2 separate regions of the Homo sapiens genome follow, and region 2 is linked to region 1. Evidence: promoter capture Hi-C in 16 types of primary human blood cells and fetal thymus (Javierre and others, 2016). All regions are on one chromosome and are shown on one strand. The core of a region is centred on a gene start or on the middle of the fragment in contact, and the rest is flanking DNA. Distances in the headings are between cores, read along the strand shown.

Region 1 (2,852 bases), core at 11-2,510:
ATGTATACACACATGCACTCTCACTTGTACTCACCCATGTATACTCTTACACACACACACTCTCTGTTAGCCAGCCTGAGCTGAGCTCTGAGGAAGCCGCAGGGAAAGGACAGAGAGAAGGATGGAGATGGGGTCACTCACGCAGGTCTGTGCCCCGGATGTTTGTGGCCCTCAGCACCTTCACCTGGAGGTCATAGTATGGGTAGGTTTCCCGCTGCAATAACAGAACTCCAGGGACTCAGTCAGCTAGTGTGAGCCTGGTCCCTCGCCCCATTGTTCCCCTCGTCCCATCATGGAGCAGCAACCTGGCATAGGGTCACTGACGTCTCTGTGCCGGGGAGCAGGGAGACCTTGGCGGGTCCCAGGCATTGGGAGTTCAGCACCTTCGTGATGTGTCTGGACCCTGGAACCCATCCGGTCTGGGTTCAAATCTAAATCCAGCACGGACTCACTGAACTAACGATGGCTGTCACGCACCACACACCTGCAGCTCCCCTCAGACGCTCGCGCCCCCACTCTAGCTTGGGAGCAGCTGTGAGAGCTGTGCTAATGTTGTGCTTGAGAAGATTAAATATTAAAAGAGAAAACTGTGACACCCCCTCCCTTGCTTGCTCCCTGACAGAGGCTCAAAGACCGTCTAGGAGGCAGCGAGCAGGTGAGCGGAAGCCGAGAGTCACCGGCCGGCCGGTACCGGTCTGACGAGTCACCGAGCAGATTGCAGCTGGGCTTAGGAGAGATAACATCAGCATGCTGCCTACTGGGAGGGAAACTCTCCCCTCACAACCCCACCAGCTCCGTGGACTCTACAGCCAGGCTCGCGCATCCTTGGTGAAAGCCAACCCACCCCAGACAAGTGTCAAGTGAACTAACCCTCCATTTCCTAATCGGAGGGAGCTATTTTTAAGAGCCAAGGTCTAATTTAAGCTCTGCCAGGTCATCTAGAATAAACAGGTCCCACCCCAACTCAAAACCCAGGGCTGGGGCTGGTCTCAGTCTTCACAGGGCACTGCAGCTCCCAGGACTCCCCCAGTCCGGGTTTCCCAGGTAATCTCAGGTACGTTACCCGCCAGTGCCTCCACAGAGGGCCCCTCTTCTCTCTCTTCTGAAGCAGCACTGCCCCCAGGAGGGGCAGCATCTTGTCTGCCAGCCACCTTGGCCAGAGTGCCCAAAGCATGGCTGGGCAGCCCGGGCCCCAGCAGGGAACCCTGCCTGCGCTCCTCTGGTTGCACAAACTGCTGGCTCAGGTGTGACAGGCAGCACTGAGTTGGGAGGGTGGAGCTGCCTGCTCTGCAGAGAACTCAGGCTGGATGGCCTGCTGGAGGTGGAGTTTGACATGCTCCAGGAAGTGACTGGAGCTTAATTTCCCCAGGCAGGAGGCAGCTCAGTCCCTCTCCAAGAGACTCTTGGGGTCTCTGGTTAGCACTCTTGTTCCCAAACCCAGCGCCCTGGTTATCACTGGGCTGTTTGTGAAAAATAGACACCGGAGCTATTTCCAACAAGACCTCTAGGTGAAGCTGGCACAGCTGGCCCAGAGACCAGCTGGCAAGTGCAAATCAGGGAAGAGTCTCCTCCAGCTGTGGAAAAGGCCTGAAACTAGCCACCCTTCAAGTCCCACCTTCCCTGCGGCTCTTAAGCTGAAGCCTAGAAATCTCTGCTTCAGTGTTTCATCTGGGATCAAAGATGTTTCTCTCTTTATATATATTTTCTAATTATACTTTAAGTTCTACGGTACATGTGCACAACGTGCAGGTTTGTTACATGTGTATACATGTGCCATATTGGTGTGCTGCACCCATTAACTCGTCATTTACATTAGGTATTTCTCCTAATGCTATCCCTCCCCCATGCCCCCTGCCCCCCGACATGCCCCGGTGTGTGATGTTCCCCGCCCTGTGTCTAAGTGTTCTCATTGTTCAATTCCCACCTATGAGTGAGAACATGTGGTGTTTGGTTTTCTGTCCTTGCGATAGTTTGCTCAGAATGATGGTTTCCAGCTTCATCCATGTCCCTACAAAGGACATGAACTCATCAAAGATGTTTTTAATCTCTCCTGACCACCCTCATTAATTCGCCAAACACCAAGAGCCTGGTGGGTGCCAGACCTGTGCTAGGCCCAGAAACGCAAAGGTGACAGAGGTGAGGCGGGCCCATCCACATCCTGGAGAAATTCAGTCTCATGACTCCCTGTGGCTTTGGCCCAGGCTCGCTTCCTGGGTCAGTGTACAGTGTCCAGGTACAGACAGGCATATGGGCAGGGGGTTATAAATAAGGACAGGCCAAACAACAAGTCTACGTATCCTTCAGCGACCAGATATACAGGCTTTAGCATTCTCTTTGGCCATCGTAGGCCTTAGGCTGCAGATGGATGTGATGTTCGCTCTTCTGTGGACCACAACCATCAAGGTGGCTGAGACAGGCACAGTCTCCAGGAAGAGTGAGGATCTCGGGGGCCGTGAACTGTGGGAGGGAGAGAATTTCTGTCCCTCAACTAAGATTCAGTCATCTCCACTCTTCCCAAGGCCTAGAGTCACAGGCTGAAAAATACAACATCCAAAAAAGATGTGATTCAACTCCAAAATGAACCGAATGGGCAAGTTCAGACCAGAAACTCCCCCCAAAAAAGGAATGTGTGACTGCCAGTGACCAGGCCCCAAAGAAGGGCCTGTTTCTGCTTTATTTGGATTGTGAAGCCAAGACTTGGCCTGGGCTCTAAGAAATGAGAGTCTGGCAGTTGGTGATAGCTGTGAATGTATGCAGGGGACCTGCGGATCCATACAAGAGGAGAGGGCACAGAGCTAGCTGGGGGCAGAACCAGGCTGGGGCTCTAGCTCCTGACTGATGTGTCTTTCTGG
Region 2 (2,856 bases), core at 102-2,601, 210 kb after region 1:
GTACACAGAAATCTCTTGAATTAGGCTTATTTTAAGAATAGAGTTTAGATAAGTTTCCCAAGCTATAATTCATCATGAACCTTATTTTCCCAAGTCTAGAAGATTCTCAATACTAGTACTTTCTTGATCTTATCAGAGGGTGTCCATGGAAGGTCATGACCATCACCCAGCTGAGTGCAGTAGAAGGAAGCTTTCTAATGTAAGTTGCATCACAGTTTCAGAGATGTGAGAGAAATTCAGAAATGTGAGGGAAATTGTGAAATGTAAAACGTGAGGGAGAAAAGCATTCAGAATGGAAAAATAAGACAAAGAGTCCCTTCCCATCTAACTCACAACCCTGCCATCCCCAACCTATTCCTTTTCCCAGGCTCTTTCTTTCTTCCGTGCTGTCTATCGACATGGACCCAGCCACACCGGCTGGTTTTTGCTGCTTTCTGTATGACCTGGTCTCTTGCCCCTTCCCAAGGTCCTCATCATCCAGGCAGAACCAACTTCTTCCTTGTGCCAGGGCTGTTACACCAGGAGAAAAAAAAGTATGACATTCTTCAGGGTAGATCTTCTTACTACTGTGGAATTATTGTCAAGTCTTTAAATTTATTTCGCCAAATGTGCTCACTTTCTGAACCCTTAACATGGCAGAAACATCTTCTCTCTTCTCGAGGAAAACCTGTAAGAAAAAATCAGAAAGATTATTATAATTACAGAATTACAATAATCTCTGGGGTGGGGGAAGGAGAATTAAGTATGATTGTTTTCGAGGAAGAAAAGAAAGAAAAACACCTGCCCGTTTACTTACAAGAGGGAGGAGAGCTAGAACTGAAAGGAAAATGGAGTGGAGGAAGCAACAGGGCTTGTGACGACCCCTAACCTGGTGTTCTTCCTCTCCACGACCCGACCCTCACAGAATTCTTTTTTTTCTTTTTTTTTTTCTTTTTTTTTTTGAGACAGGGTCTCGCTCTGTTGCCCAGGCTGGAGTGCAGTGTCTCCAGCTCAGCTCACTGCAACCTCCACCTCCCAGGTTCAACCAATCCTCCCACCTTGGCCTCTCTAGTTGCTGGGACTACAGGCATGCGCCACCATGCCTGGCTAATTTTTGTATTTTTAGTAGAGATGGGGTTTCACCATATTGACTAGGCTGGTCTCAAACTCCTGACCCCAGTGATCCACCGCCTCAGCCTCCCAAAGTGCTGGGATTATAGGCATGAGGCTCTGCACCCGGCCTCCCTCACAGAATTCTTTCCGAGTGCTTGTGAAACTTCTGAGGCAAGTGACTTGGTAGAGGGTGGAGGTTCCTATTTTGGTTTACACAAGCAGGGGTGAGCCAACACTCAGAGTGTGGAAAGCACAGGAGTGTGGGGAGAGAGAAGCACACAGAAAGGAGCTGCTAGGAACCGGCTGAACTGTGGTGGGAGTGAGGAGGCTCTGCCCTCTCAGAGGCTATGGAGTGGTGTTCAAGACAATTCACAAGGAAGCCTGGTGCCTCAGCTAACACTGGGTGGCATTCTGCTGAAGAGGAGCTGACACGTACTTTTCCATTTTCATTCAATCTTCAAGTTTAAACAATCACCATCAGAACTTTCAGAAGTGTATTATATACTCCAGAACACCAGAAATATAGTATAAAAGCTGCTATTTTTAAAATACCCCAGAGATATAGGACCAAAAATGGGAACTACTTTCAGCCTTTCCAGATGGATGGCTTTCTTTCCTGATATAAAGGTTTTAAAGAGAAAAGGATGGCTCCATCTCCTTGAGTAACCTACAGCTTGTAACTTTCACAGTCTGAACACTCATCCTTATTTCTAACTAGAATGTTTCCAGGTGCAAATGTAATATATTTTCTCTGGCTGTGACCCAAAAGACAGTGAAATAGAGTCAGCTGATTTTCCCTGTATGGTAACCCTCCCTATTTTTTTCTCTCTTTTTTTTAAACAGAGATAGGAGTCTCACTATGTTGTCCACACTGGACTTGAACTCCTGGGTTTAAGTGATCCTCCTGCCTCAGACTCTGAGTAGCTGGGACTACAGGCATATCCTGTTTTTGAATCATGTCATCCCTCTTTTAGTTAATTCAGATCAGTCACAAAAGTGTTCCAACTTTATGCCATAGGCATGGCTTTTCCAACATGGAGGACGTCAGTGCTATAAACCTTACACAGCCAATCCTTGTTATTTGCAGATGCCATATTTGCAAATTCACCTACTCGCTAAGGTTTGTCTCCTCAAAATTAGTACTTGAGGTGTTTTTGCAGTCATTTGTGGGCATACACAGAGCTGTGAAAAATCTGAGTCACCCCACATGCCTGTTCCCAGCTCAGGTCAAACAAGGCAACACTCAGCCTTCTTGTTTCAGCTTTGATACTGTAAAGAATGTCCTTTTCATGACGTCTTTAGTGCCATGTTTTTCTCATTTCTGTGCTTTTTATTGGTGACCTCCAAGCATAGTGCTGAAATGCTGTCTAGCATTCTAGGAGGCTGTGGTGTGCCTCATGGAGGAAATACGTGTGTCAGATAAGCTTTGTTCACACACAAGTTATAGTCAGTTGGCTGTGAGTTCAATGTTATTGAATCATCAATCAATAAACAATAATTTAATGAATCAATATTAAATAAGGTGTCTTTAAGCAGAAACATCATAAAATAAGGCTCTGTATTGATTGGTTGATGAAAATGTGACCAGAGACTCATAGGACTCTAACTCTGTAGTTCCCCTAGGAGCAATGGTTCAGTATTTACTAATACAGTGTTCTCAGCGTTATTATAAAACATAACTACCAAGAATAATGAGTATTGACTATACTTCATTTTCTCTGTATTCTTAAATATTACAGCTTGAAACAATGCTCTATTAAGAAT

What was found. Contacts are between HindIII fragments. The CHiCAGO score rates a contact against its expected background, and 5 or more counts as called.
Region 2: a contact is called between a fragment that was not itself captured here and the fragment with the promoter of PLA2G4F in region 1, in 1 of 17 cell types (endothelial precursors). The highest score is 6.3, in endothelial precursors.

The regions. Positions count from the first base shown.
Region 1 is chr15:42,155,376-42,158,227 of GRCh38, forward strand. It overlaps PLA2G4F (phospholipase A2 group IVF), which reads right to left and starts at 1,261. Exons shown (of 20, transcript NM_213600.4): 1 at 1,064-1,261; 2 at 142-214. The coding sequence starts at 1,174. RefSeq lists an enhancer at 986-1,701. The HindIII fragment of the contact is 5,494 bases long and covers 1-2,852 here.
Region 2 is chr15:42,365,911-42,368,766 of GRCh38, forward strand. All of the region lies in intron 1 of CAPN3 (calpain 3), which reads left to right. Among named protein-coding and RNA genes, the nearest start is that of CAPN3, 7.8 kb to the left of the region's middle. The HindIII fragment of the contact is 2,326 bases long and covers 189-2,514 here.